3 separate regions of the Homo sapiens genome follow, and regions 1 and 3 are each linked to region 2. The links are contacts of gene promoters, found by promoter capture Hi-C in blood cells and fetal thymus (Javierre and others, 2016). All regions are on one chromosome and are shown on one strand. The core of a region is centred on a gene start or on the middle of the fragment in contact, and the rest is flanking DNA. Distances in the headings are between cores, read along the strand shown. Region 1 overlaps ARNT (aryl hydrocarbon receptor nuclear translocator). Region 2 holds the start of ECM1 (extracellular matrix protein 1). Region 3 has its middle 21 kb from the start of CTSK.

What was found. The method cuts DNA at HindIII sites, captures the fragments that hold promoters and counts their contacts. A CHiCAGO score of 5 or more calls a contact.
Region 1: a fragment that was not itself captured here is called in contact with the fragment with the promoter of ECM1 in region 2 in 1 of 17 cell types (neutrophils); the score reaches 6.5 in neutrophils.
Region 3: a fragment that was not itself captured here is called in contact with the fragment with the promoter of ECM1 in region 2 in 1 of 17 cell types (neutrophils); the score reaches 6.5 in neutrophils.

Annotation. Positions count from the first base shown.
Region 1 is chr1:150,826,150-150,830,105 of GRCh38, reverse strand. It overlaps ARNT (aryl hydrocarbon receptor nuclear translocator), which reads left to right. Exons shown (of 22, transcript NM_001668.4): 11 at 126-202; 12 at 879-1,013; 13 at 3,489-3,563. Among named protein-coding and RNA genes, the nearest start is that of CTSK, 20 kb to the right of the region's middle. RefSeq lists cis regulatory regions at 1,927, 2,492 and enhancers at 1,855-1,999, 2,420-2,564. The HindIII fragment of the contact is 5,500 bases long and covers 1-3,956 here.
Region 2 is chr1:150,505,511-150,509,386 of GRCh38, reverse strand. It overlaps ECM1 (extracellular matrix protein 1), which reads right to left and starts at 1,278. Exons shown (of 10, transcript NM_004425.4): 1 at 1,108-1,278. The coding sequence starts at 1,177. TARS2 (threonyl-tRNA synthetase 2, mitochondrial) reads right to left here. Exons shown (of 18, transcript NM_025150.5): 17 at 3,682-3,796; 18 at 1,785-2,471. The coding sequence ends at 2,323. The HindIII fragment of the contact is 8,833 bases long and covers 1,258-3,876 here.
Region 3 is chr1:150,785,326-150,789,164 of GRCh38, reverse strand. No RefSeq gene overlaps it. Among named protein-coding and RNA genes, the nearest start is that of CTSK, 21 kb to the left of the region's middle. The HindIII fragment of the contact is 1,818 bases long and covers 1,115-2,932 here.

The DNA of each region.
Region 1 (3,956 bases), core at 219-2,718, 320 kb before region 2:
ATTACAGGCGTCAGCCACGGTGCCTGGCCCATAAATAGGTCTATTTTGAATCTTTACTTGTCTGAGTTTTGAAGGCATTTGAGTTGGAGGTCCCCGTTAAACCTTTTAACGTCACGTTTCTGAAGGTGTTTCCCTCCCAGATGATGACCCAGAGGCTGGCCAGGGAAGCAAGTTTTGCCTAGTGGCCATTGGCAGATTGCAGGCAAGTATGAATTTTCCACATCTATATTCCCGTTCAATTAGAGCAGATCTTCAGGACTCATTCCTGTTAATTTTCTTTTACTTTCTGAATACAAATGAAGAATTCCATAAAACTCTCAAAATTTGAAGGAATATGGCATTTATAGTGACCATTGCTATTCTTGGATTTAAGTAAAGTTGAAAAGTATGAGAGGAGGGAGATCTTTTTCCCCTTGTCTTAATTTTAGCTTTACTATGCTTAATTTTCTATTTCCAGTTAATTTCCTTTGCCCCTATACAAAAGAAGAAAGATCCTTTTCATTGTATCATTACCTGACTAACAATAGAAAAGTGGAATTATTTTGATTTTTTCATAAGTATAGATAAGTTTCTTGGTTACTTGTACCATATCAACCTGAGTAATGAGTTCAGCATAGCCAGTATGTGGATTTTAGATTGAATAAACTTTATTCTTACTTTACTAACTTGGTAAAGTGTAAATGTATGGGAGCAGAGCTAGACCTTATGCCTTGTCTGATTGTGATTGTCATTTTTTTTTCCTTTTTGGATAAAATGTGAAAGTTTAGAAAGTCCTAAAACTGGGAATCTTATGTCTATGCAAAAGACCATGAGGAGATAGGAAATACATCTGTAAATAATGGTATCATTTTACCTCATTTTTATCTCTTCACTCTCAGGTAACTAGTTCTCCCAACTGTACAGACATGAGTAATGTTTGTCAACCAACAGAGTTCATCTCCCGACACAACATTGAGGGTATCTTCACTTTTGTGGATCACCGCTGTGTGGCTACTGTTGGCTACCAGCCACAGGTGAGGAGCTGGAGCTCCATTAGGCCTCCATTTTCCTTTGGCTATGTTGACATTATGTAATCATGTAGTTCCTAAGACAGCCAAAACATATCAACCTCAGTTAAGAAAAAGAGATCATCATATTCTGTTAGTACCTAACATTATTTTCAGCTTCCTATTAGGACTGTCATCTCATGTAGAGAAATATGGCTTGTCAAACCAGGTGGGAGCAGCAGGTACAAATATGTATTTATTTTTTGTTGTTGATATTAATACAGATGATTCAAAGGTACTCATATTAATTAGTTATACCAGTATAGCTACATTTAGATAATTCATGTAATTACCTAAATGAATAATGGCCCATAAAACATGCAGATTTAGCACCAGTTATTATAATTTACTCATGCAACAGACCAGTTAGCCATCTCTGAATTGACGCATCATATAAACTTTTAAAACTGTTGTGGGTCGGAAGGACTTCTGGCTGTGGCTATGTGAAAGAGGTTGGTGAAAAAGAGGTCTTGAAAACAAAGAACAAAGAGAATTTACACTACCTGATTCAACACTAACTATAAAGCTATTACCAAGACACTGTGGTGTTGGTGTAAGGATAGATATATAGATCAATAGACCAGAATAAGGTCTATTCTTATACTTGTCAACTAATTTTCAGCAAAGGTGACAAGACAATTCAATGGATAAAATAAATATTTCTAACAAATGGAACAATTGGATATCTGTATGCAAAAAAAAAAAAAAACAAAAAAAAAACCACACCCAAAAATGAAAACACATAGATCTTACCTCATACAATTTACAAAAATCAGCTTAGAGGCCTAAATGTGTAAGAGCTAAAGTTACAAATAAACTCCTAGGAGAAAATCTTTGTGATTTTGAGTTAGGCAAAAGATTTCTTACACTAAAAGCATGATTCACAGAAGAAAAAAAATTATAAATTGGATTTAATTGTAATTAAAATTTGCCCTCTTTAAAGGATATTATTAAGAAAATGAAAAGACCAGACATAAATGGAGAGAAAATAGTTACAAGTCATATACCTGAAAGAGGATTTGTACCAGGAATATATAAACAACTCATTAAGACAAACAGCTGGTAAAAAAGAGCATAAGACTTGACATTTGACTGAAGAATAAATATGCATTTATGCACATGAAAAGATGCTCAACATCTTTTTACCATTAGGAAAGTGCAAATTAAAATCACAATGAGATACCACTATATACCCACTAGAATGGCTGTAATCAAAAAGTATTGGTGAAAATGTGTAGAAGCTGGAAGGAACCCTCATACATTGCTGATAGACATGTAAAATGGTATAGCTACTAGCTTTGCAAAAGCATTTTGGCAGTTTCCTACAAAGTTAAACATACTCTTAGCCTATAACCTAGCAATTTTATTCCTGAGTATCTACCTAAGAGAAATGAAAACATGTTCACCCATAGATTTGTACACAGTTCATATCTGTATTATTCATAATAGCCAAAAAAATGAAAACTATTTAAACGTCCATTAACATTTTGTAAATGAATACACAACTGTGTTGTATCCATGTGAGAATACTACTGAGCATAAAAAGGAATAAACTACTGATAATGCAGCCATGTAGATGAACTTCAAAAATACCATGCTCAATGAAAGAAGCCAGACCCAAAAGACCACATATTATGTTGTTTTATTTATATGAAATTTGTAGAAATAGCAGAACTAGAGAGGCAGAAAGCAGATTTGTGGTTGGCTGGGGAGTTGGAGTGGGAGCAGAGATTGACTGCAGATGGCACAAGGGAACATCTTGGGGCAGTGAATGTGTTCTGAAACTGGATTGTGGTAATCATTGCACAACTATAAATTTAGTAGACATCATCAAATCATACACTTAGAATGGCTGAATTATGAATGTAAATTTTATCTAAAATTTATAATCTCATTAAAATAAATGTATAATATTCTGAGAAAGAAAAATGTTTTAGAAGCCAGCTCCTTAACAGATTCTGCCTTTTTTTAGTAGATTTCATCTTTTGTTTATTGTCTTTTTTTTTTCTCCTCCTCACTTAACTATAATCTTAGGATTAAAACAGAAGAAATAAAATCCAGGTCCCCAGCTGATGGACCAGGCCAGTTAGATGACCATAAAATTATATATGTTGGCTGGGCACGGTGGCTCACACCTGTAATCCCAGCGCTTTGGGAGGCCGAGGCGGGTGGATCACTTGAGGTCAGGAGTTCGAGACCAGCCTGACCAACATGGTGAAACCCTGTCTCTATTTAAAAAAATACAAAATTAGCCAGGTGTGGTAGCACACCCCTGTAATCCCAGCTACTTGGGAGGTTGAGACAGGAAAATTGCTTGAACTCAGGAGGTGGAGGTTGCAGTGAGCCAAGATCGCGCCATCGTACTCCAGCCTGGGCAACAAGAGCGAAACTCCATCTTAAAAAAAAAAAAGTATATATCTTACTCTTCTTTCTGTATTCTAGGAACTCTTAGGAAAGAATATTGTAGAATTCTGTCATCCTGAAGACCAGCAGCTTCTAAGAGACAGCTTCCAACAGGTAACTTTTTTCCTGGTTTGGTTCTGAATAAATATTTGTCATATTCACTCCATAAATATTGACTACTGATTAACTGAACACTGTGGCAGGCACTACAGTTTTATGTTCTTTAGTAGTTAATCTGCATTTTTAAGGAATAGAAAAGGACTAATACTTTGAAATTATGGATAATGCCCAAGGTATTTCTGTTTGGCTTTGGCTATTTACTGTCTTGTATTCAATTAACTGTATCCAAGGAGCTGTCTTTAAGGTATTTAAACTATTGCGCCAGGCATGGTGGCTCATGCGCCCAACCTCTGTAGATGCTGTGAAAATAGATGTTTTCCTCGTCTGGGCATGGTGGCTCACGCCTATAATCCCAGCACTCTGGGAGGCTGAGGCAGGTGGATCACT
Region 2 (3,876 bases), core at 29-2,528:
CCTAATCCTCTCCCAGCCCCAACACACCTAGACATGACCAGCTGGGTTCTGAGAAAGCCTGTGGCGGTCTGATAGCTCCACCTCTACTGGCTCAGAGGTTGGGCCTAAAGGGAGTATGGCATACGGGATTGGGGAGGGAGGCCCTCATTTCCTCTGCCAGTCTTTCCCTCAGGGCTGTGGGTTGTCCTCCCCAGTCTCTGCTGGGATGCGTCTCTAGCTTTCAGAGGAAAAAGTCTGGACCTTGAGCTGGTTGGAGCCTACCCAATCCACCTCCTCCACCCACCCTCCTACTCCAGGCCCTTGAAACATCTTTAGGCCTTTGGTTAAGGAGGCTTCCTGAAGGTTGAGTGCTTCCCCTTCAGCCAGTCTCAGCTCCGCCTTAGTTTAGGTCTCAATTTAGGGCCTGGGGGACTGGGACAGGCACAGGGAAGGGTCACTTGTAGGTGATCTGCAGACACAAAAGACCAGGAGCTGGGAAGAATGATGGCATGGGGCTTCACAGAGAAGTGGACAGATTTGCTGACATCCTCAGCAGCTTCCTGCAGGAGTGCCCTGGGTGGTTTTTTTCCTTTTCTTTTCCTTTTTTTCTTAGTTTCCACCCATAGCATTGAGGGGTTCCTGTTTTGTTCAGGCATCAAAGCAGATAAAGAATGTGTTTGTGCTGGATGGAGGGTGGGTCTGTGGATGGACACCCCTCAACTCCTCTAATCAGACAGGGAGTCAGTCGAGGCTTGCTGGGCCAGCAATCCGGTTTTGAGCAGCCTGGGGGCCCCTTTTCCCTCCCTTGCCTCTCCCACCAGCCACCTCCCTACATCCTCATCAGCAGGAGACCCTCACTCTGTGAACCCACCCCCCACTCAGTTGTCTATTTGACTGGGATTCTGTGTTTCTTGGCAGCAGTTTCTAGGAACCCCTCTCCTTCTGTGCCCCTGCTCTCTGCCTCCTTGGTTAAAGGCTCCACTGGCCTAGGCCCACTTTGGGCCTGCTCAGAAAAGGAAAGCCAAACGGAGAATCACTCTGCTAGTGATGAGCCGTCTGGGATGCCTGGACCCAGACCCCTGCCATGCAAGCCCAGACCCCCTCCTAAGTGCTGATCCCCCAACTCACCTCCCTCAGAGGCAGCAGAAGCAACAGCCAAATAGGTCAAGACCAAGGCTGCTCTGGCTGTGGTCCCCATCCTGGGGCAACTGACCACTGGACACTCAGAGGTGGGTCCTCTCAGGCAAGTCTGGATGTGAAGGGCCGGCCACTGAAGCTTGTCTGGTGGCTGTTACGGTTGTGAGCTTCAGGACCAGCTCTTCTTTTATAATTGTCTGGTGTGATCTCCCGCCCTCCTCAGCTTCCTGCCATGACTCAGTCCCAGCTGCTCCTCCTCTGGAAGCCACTCCTCCCAAAGTCACCCTGAAGCCTCCTCAGAGGATTGAGAAGAATGGGACTGATTAGAGGAGAACATTCTTATGACCTTCAAGAGAAACTGATTCAGAGAATCCAGGAGCAAGAGGTGTTTGAGCCCCTAGTTTGTGCCTCAGTTTCTCCATCTACAGGCTGCCTTCTGTGGAGAGGGGATCTGCCAACTCATGAACTGGGGTTGGGGAAACAGGGCACAAAGGAGTTTACAGCGGGGAGCAGGAAACCTATCCAAGGGATCTCCCCTACCAGTGTGAGGTCTGGACTGTCCCTTTTCAATTTCCCTAACTCTCTGGGACAAAAAAGAGGGAGACAAAGTGGAACATCCTTTTATCCCACCTCTCCAGAGTCAGAGATGAAGACATATGACCAGCAGCTTCCAGTTTGTATTTATTTATTTATTTATTTATTTAGAGACAGAGTCTCGCTCTGTCGCCTAGGGGGGTGCAGTGGCGCAATCTCAGCTCACTGCAACCTCTACCTCCCGGGTTCAAGCGATTCTCCTGCCTCAGCCTCCTGAGTAGCTGGGATTACAGGCGTGTGCCACCATGCCCGGCTAATTTTTTGTATTTTTAGTAGAGACAGGGTTTCACCGTGTTAGCCAGGGTGGTCTTGATCTCCTGACCTCATGATCCGTCCGCCTCAGCCTCCCAGAGTGCTGGGATTACAGGCATGAGCCACTGCGCCTGGCCCAATTTATTTTTTTTTGTAGTTTCATTCTCCTCACATCCAAACAGCTACAGCTTCCCTCCTTTTGTGGGGTCCCCAAACCAAGTCTCTTTTCAGGAGAGCAGACATGTGCCTCCACACAGTTCTGAAGTTCTGGGGGCTCCACATTGTCAGCTGGGTTGGGGTCTCCCATGTGAGGGAGGCTGATGGCACTCGCAGGTTTTTGCCTCATCTATGTACAAAGGCTCAGAAAATTTCTTCGGCATTTGGGACCCTCGTGTTCTGTAGCTCCACCAGTCGCTGCACAGCCTCAGGCAAGTCCCACTCCCCAAGGCGACGATTATCTCGAGTCCGAATGTTCACTGTTCTCTTACTTTGCTCTTTCTGGCCAACCACTGCAGGTAGAGGAAGTTTGGGAACCTCAGGGCAAATTCACCCACATGGAACAGTTTCTTTTGCTCTGCAGAAACTTGAGAGACCTAAATCTTTAGGAAGGGTGGGAGCAGAGCCCAGATATGGTTCACAGAAAGGAAGTATTCAGCTGTGTCTGCTAATACTAAATGACCAGTCCTGCTCATCCTGAGGAGACAAGGAAGTGCTTCAGTCCCCGCAGGCCTTATCGCTTCTGGTCAAGAGCCCCAGGGTCAGAGACATAAGAGTCAAGCAGAGAAAGACAAACACTGAGAACCCCACAGAGAGAAACTGTGTGTGTGTGTGTGTGTGTGTGTGTGTGTGTCAGAGACATTAGAGTCAAGCAGAGAAAGACAAACAATGAGAACCCCACAGAGAGAAACTGTGTGTGTGTGTGTGTGTGTGTGTGTGTGCGCGCGCGTGTCTGAAGGGGGTATTAGAGCAAGTGGAAGGTGGCAGGAGTGGTGTGGCCTTCACACTGCCCCGCCTCCCCCCAACCACTCTGACCCTTAGAACAGTTTCCTCTCATCAGTCCCACTCTGGCTCTTGGTGTCTGTTAGGGCTGGATTCACAGAGTGAGGGGCCTCTGCTGAGGAGGATGTATGCAGGGGCTGACTGGGCGGTAAGGGAGGGAAAGGGGCCATGTACAAGTCCCTGGGATTGCAGCACAGCTTGCTCTGGGTGCTTGTAGGGAGAGTGGGGTGTGCAAAACTCAAGAATCAGGTAATCTGGCTGAGGAGTTTCTGCTCCTCACCTTTGAGATAGAGCCCTGAACCCTGGAAAATGAAAAAGGGAGCATGGCAGTGCCAGAATTTTCTCCCTAAGGCCTTTCTCCTCATCCCTTAGGGCTGATTCCATCTAGGTCTAAAATAAACAAGGGTAATTAACGCTGTATTAACCCTCCCGTCCCTTTCTCTCTGATGCTCCCTTGGTTAATTAACCTAACAGACACCAACAGCTAGAGTGGAGTTAAAAAGAGGAAAACTATTTTGAGTGTCAGAAGTGGTTATGGGGAGGGCAGGGCAATGTGAAGGAACACAGGGCCCAAATGAGTCAGGTGTCCTGAATCCTGGCTCCTACCTGCTCAGGTAATGAGCCCCAATTAACCCAAATATGCATTACCAGACTTGGTAAACTTAACAGCAAGAATGCAGACGGCAGGTGGGAGAACATTGGCTCTGAGGTTCAGCTTACCAAACTGAAAATTGTAGTGGGCAAGCTGGGCCCGGCGGATTCTCCGGCTGAGGGTCAGTCCAGAGTCTGCATCCAGGTCACTGACCAGTCCTGCAGCCCGCAGGCTCTGCTGTGCCTGCAACAGAGGTTTGGTGACAGGAAGTTAATTTACTGGAAAGTTAAGGAGCTAGAACAGTCTGATGCTCTTTTCCCTCA
Region 3 (3,839 bases), core at 774-3,273, 280 kb before region 2:
TGGCTCTAATTGTTAAACATGTCACTTTCAAACTGTTGGTACTTTTTTATTAGTAATACATTTCTTGTGACTTACTTTGTAATTAATTGTAACACATCAAATGTGTCACACCAATTGTTATTCATTTGTTAGGGGAGGGGTCTTATCACTGGCTTCTAGAGTACTCCCTAATTATGTCTTATTTTGTTCTCTTGGTAAAATTAAGCTCCTTCTTTGAGTACACATTGCTAGGTGACAAGGAGTACTTGTAGGATAATGGGGGATGTCTACTAGGATCAAATAATGCACCAAGCAGATAAGCTACACAGAATATCAGAAAGAATATATATTTTCAATTCAGAACATTCCTATTTTCCCTAATGACTCAAGAATTCTGTTTTCTTTCTTCAGAAAGTTATTGCATAATATTAACATAAAGTTAATTGAGGGGAAACTCAACATTATGGTAAAATCGTCTTTTCTAGTCCCATATTCTCCTATAGTCCATGAAGGGTATTCCTCACCTCACCTTTGTGCATTTCTTGGACAGTGAGGTCAGTAAGAAGTAAACTATTTTATTATGAAAATAATGTATGTTATTAAATTCCTAGCACACTTGGGTAAATTAACAGAGACTAGAACTAGCATTGGAATGAATCATCCTAAAATTCAAAATCCTTTTCTTTAAGACTAAATAAGGGTAGGGCGCAGTGGCTCACGCCTGTAATCCCAGCACTTTGGGAGGCTGAGGCAGGTAGATCGCCTGAGGTCAGGAGTTCAAGACCAGCCTGGCCAATATAGCAAAACCCTGTCTCTATTACAAAAAAAAACAAAAAACAAAAATTAGCCAGGCGTGATGGCGCGCCTGTAATCCCAGCTACTCAGGAGGCTGAGGCAGGAGAATTGCTTGAACGTGGAGGTGGAGGTTGCAGTGAGCCGAGATTGCACCACTGCACTCCAGCCTGGGCGACAGAGCAAGACTGTCTCTCTCTCTCTCTCTCTCACACACACACACACACACAGACTAAATAAGACAGAGAAACTTAAAGCAGCTGATTTTCAGGGGGCATGAAGCTAAGAGATGGTTACTTCAAAAGCTTGAAAAGGTACAACTGTAACAAGCAGGGACAAAGCTTCCTTATTTTGCTTTCATTTCTCCTTTTCCACGTTATTCAGGAGATGTTGCCTCGTTTGTGATGAAAGGGAGTCTGCATTCCCGATAAGACTTAGTGTTGTGCAGCATTCTGGATAAGACTTAGTTGTTGTGCAACTGTTGTGCAAAACATTTGCCTTGTTTTTTTGTTTTCAATCGCTATTGAAATAAATTTGCAAAAAGTGTGCCCCATTTCAGGGCAATTTACAGCTTTGCAAAAATCCAGTTTACAGCTTTGGAATGTCACAGGATGATGTGTAAGTTTATAAAATACCTTAAGTGATACAAGGATAGATTATCTAATGACATGTTCCCCTAATGTATTCAAACACTGTATGTGTTTACAGACTTTTGCATACCAGGAGGAGATTCAAAGAGAAACCTAAGGCTTAAAGCCTCAGAAGCCACTGCCAAGTCATGATGAACCAGAAATGAAGACAAACCATGTAGAATATTATAATTAGGAAAAGTTAATTCAATGAATGTTTATTGATTATTATCTAAATATGTGTTAAGCCACAGTGCAATACAAAGATGAGTAGGACAAGATCCTGTATTTTCAAGTTAGCTAGTGAGATAAAACTATCTTACGTGCTACAAATACAGAATCAGAATTTCGTGGTACAATTTGTATCGTGCAAGTGTAGCTAGAGGGAAGAAGAGTTGGGGTAGTTAGAGAAGGCTCTGAGGAGGCAGTACTTGAAGTGGATCTTGCAGAACAAAGAGGCCAAGGAATGGAGAGAGCCATTCTAGAAAGGAGGCAAGAATGATTGGGCAACTGGGGAGGTCCATGGGACCAGCATGGCTACATCAGAGGCTGAGTTTTCAAAATCTGGGGTTTTGTTTGTTTGTTTTTGTTGTTGTTGTTGTTGTTTGAGACTAGTCTTGTTCTGTCACCCAGGCTGTAGTGCAATGGTGCGATCTCAGCTCACTGCAATCTCCGCCTGCTGGATTCAAGTGATTCTCGTGCCTCAGCCTCCCAAGTAGCTGGGACTACAGATGAGGCACTAATTTTTATATTTTTAGTAGAAACGTGGTTTCACCATGTTGGCCAGACTGGTCTCAAACTCCTGGCCTCAAGTGATCCACCAGCCTCGGCCTCCCAAAGTGCTGGGATTACAGGCATGAGCCATCAGATTGCCTGAGCTCAGGAGTTCAACACCAGCCTGGGCAACACGGTGAAACCCCATCTCCACTAAACTACAAAAAATTGGCATGGAGGCGTGTGCCTGTAATCCCAGCTACTCGGGAGGCTGAGGCAGAGAATTGCTTGAACCAGGGAGGCAGAGTTTGCAGTGAGCCGAGATCGCGCCACTGCACTCCAGCCTGGGCAACAGAGCGAGACCCCCTCTTTAAAACAAAAACAAAAACAAATTGAGTAAAATGCTCAGGAAAGGGATCCAGAGCATGGGGAAAGAGCCTTGGAAGGCAGGGGCGCAGGACTTCATGCAGCAGGCAACAGAAAACATTTCTAGAAAACAGCATGATAAAAATGTGTTTTAGGAGCACAGTTTGGCAGTGATGTGCAGGATGAGATTCCACAACAGACTGGAATGAAGGTGCTGAAATAATTTAAATCATCAGAAAATATTTATTTAGTGTCTGCTGACCATCGCATCATATACTGTGGAGGACACGAAGAAGAGTAGGAGCTACAGGGCCCCTGTACTTTATGGGCTAACAGGTAGTTACATAAGGCAAAAATACAAATAATTATCATATTAAACAGAAAATTAAGAGGATGGTTTTTCTGCGCTCAGTCTATGTGTCTGCCACAAGGAGCCTCAAAGCCTCAAAGCTTGGTAGAAGCTCAAAAAGTGACATCCAGTTGGGGATAAAGAAAGGCTTTTTTTTTTTTTTGAGACGGAGTTTCACTCTTGTTGCCCAGGCTGGAGTGCAATGTGCGATCTCGGCTCACTGCAACCTCCGACTCCCGGGTTCAAGCAATTCTCCCACCTCAGCCTCCTGAGTAGGTGGGACTACAGGCATGCGCCACCACACCCGGCTAATTTTGTATTTTTAGTAGAGACAGGGTTTCGCCGTGTTGGTCAGGCTGGTCTTGAACTCCTGACCTCAGGTGATCCACCCGCCTCGGCCTCCCAAAGTGCTCGGATTACAGGCGTGAGCCACTGCACCTGGCCGAGAAAGGCTTTTTGTAAGAGCTATTTTCAGAGATGGGCCATTAAGGAGGAGCAGAATTTCAAGCAGCAGAAATGAGAAAAGGAAATTCCAGAAAGAGAGAGGCAACACGATAATTTTGGGAAAGCACTACTTTAAAAACAAGGTTGGTTCACTTCTAGGTCAATGGACAGTTTTGTCCTCTTGAACAAGTTAGCCTCTCAGAAGTTTAACTTCTCCTCTGTAAAATGAGGATAATAATATCTACCTCATAGAGTTGTGAAGATTAAATAATAATGCACAAAGAGTCTAGCACACTCATTGGCATATAATTGGCATCCAATTAATGTTAGCTAGGACTATTAGGATCATTAAGCAAGTCAACAGTGCAGAGGGTGACAAGCATAGATGATCTGGAAATATGAGGAAAACTAGTTGCTTAGAGTATAAGGTTCTTGTGTGAGGATAGCAAAGATGAAACTGCAAAGATAGAGCAATGCTTTTGTTTTGTACAGCATCTGAAATACTGGAATAAGGACTTTGGTTCAAATTAGTAGGCAATATGGAAGTATTGAAGAGTTTTGACACA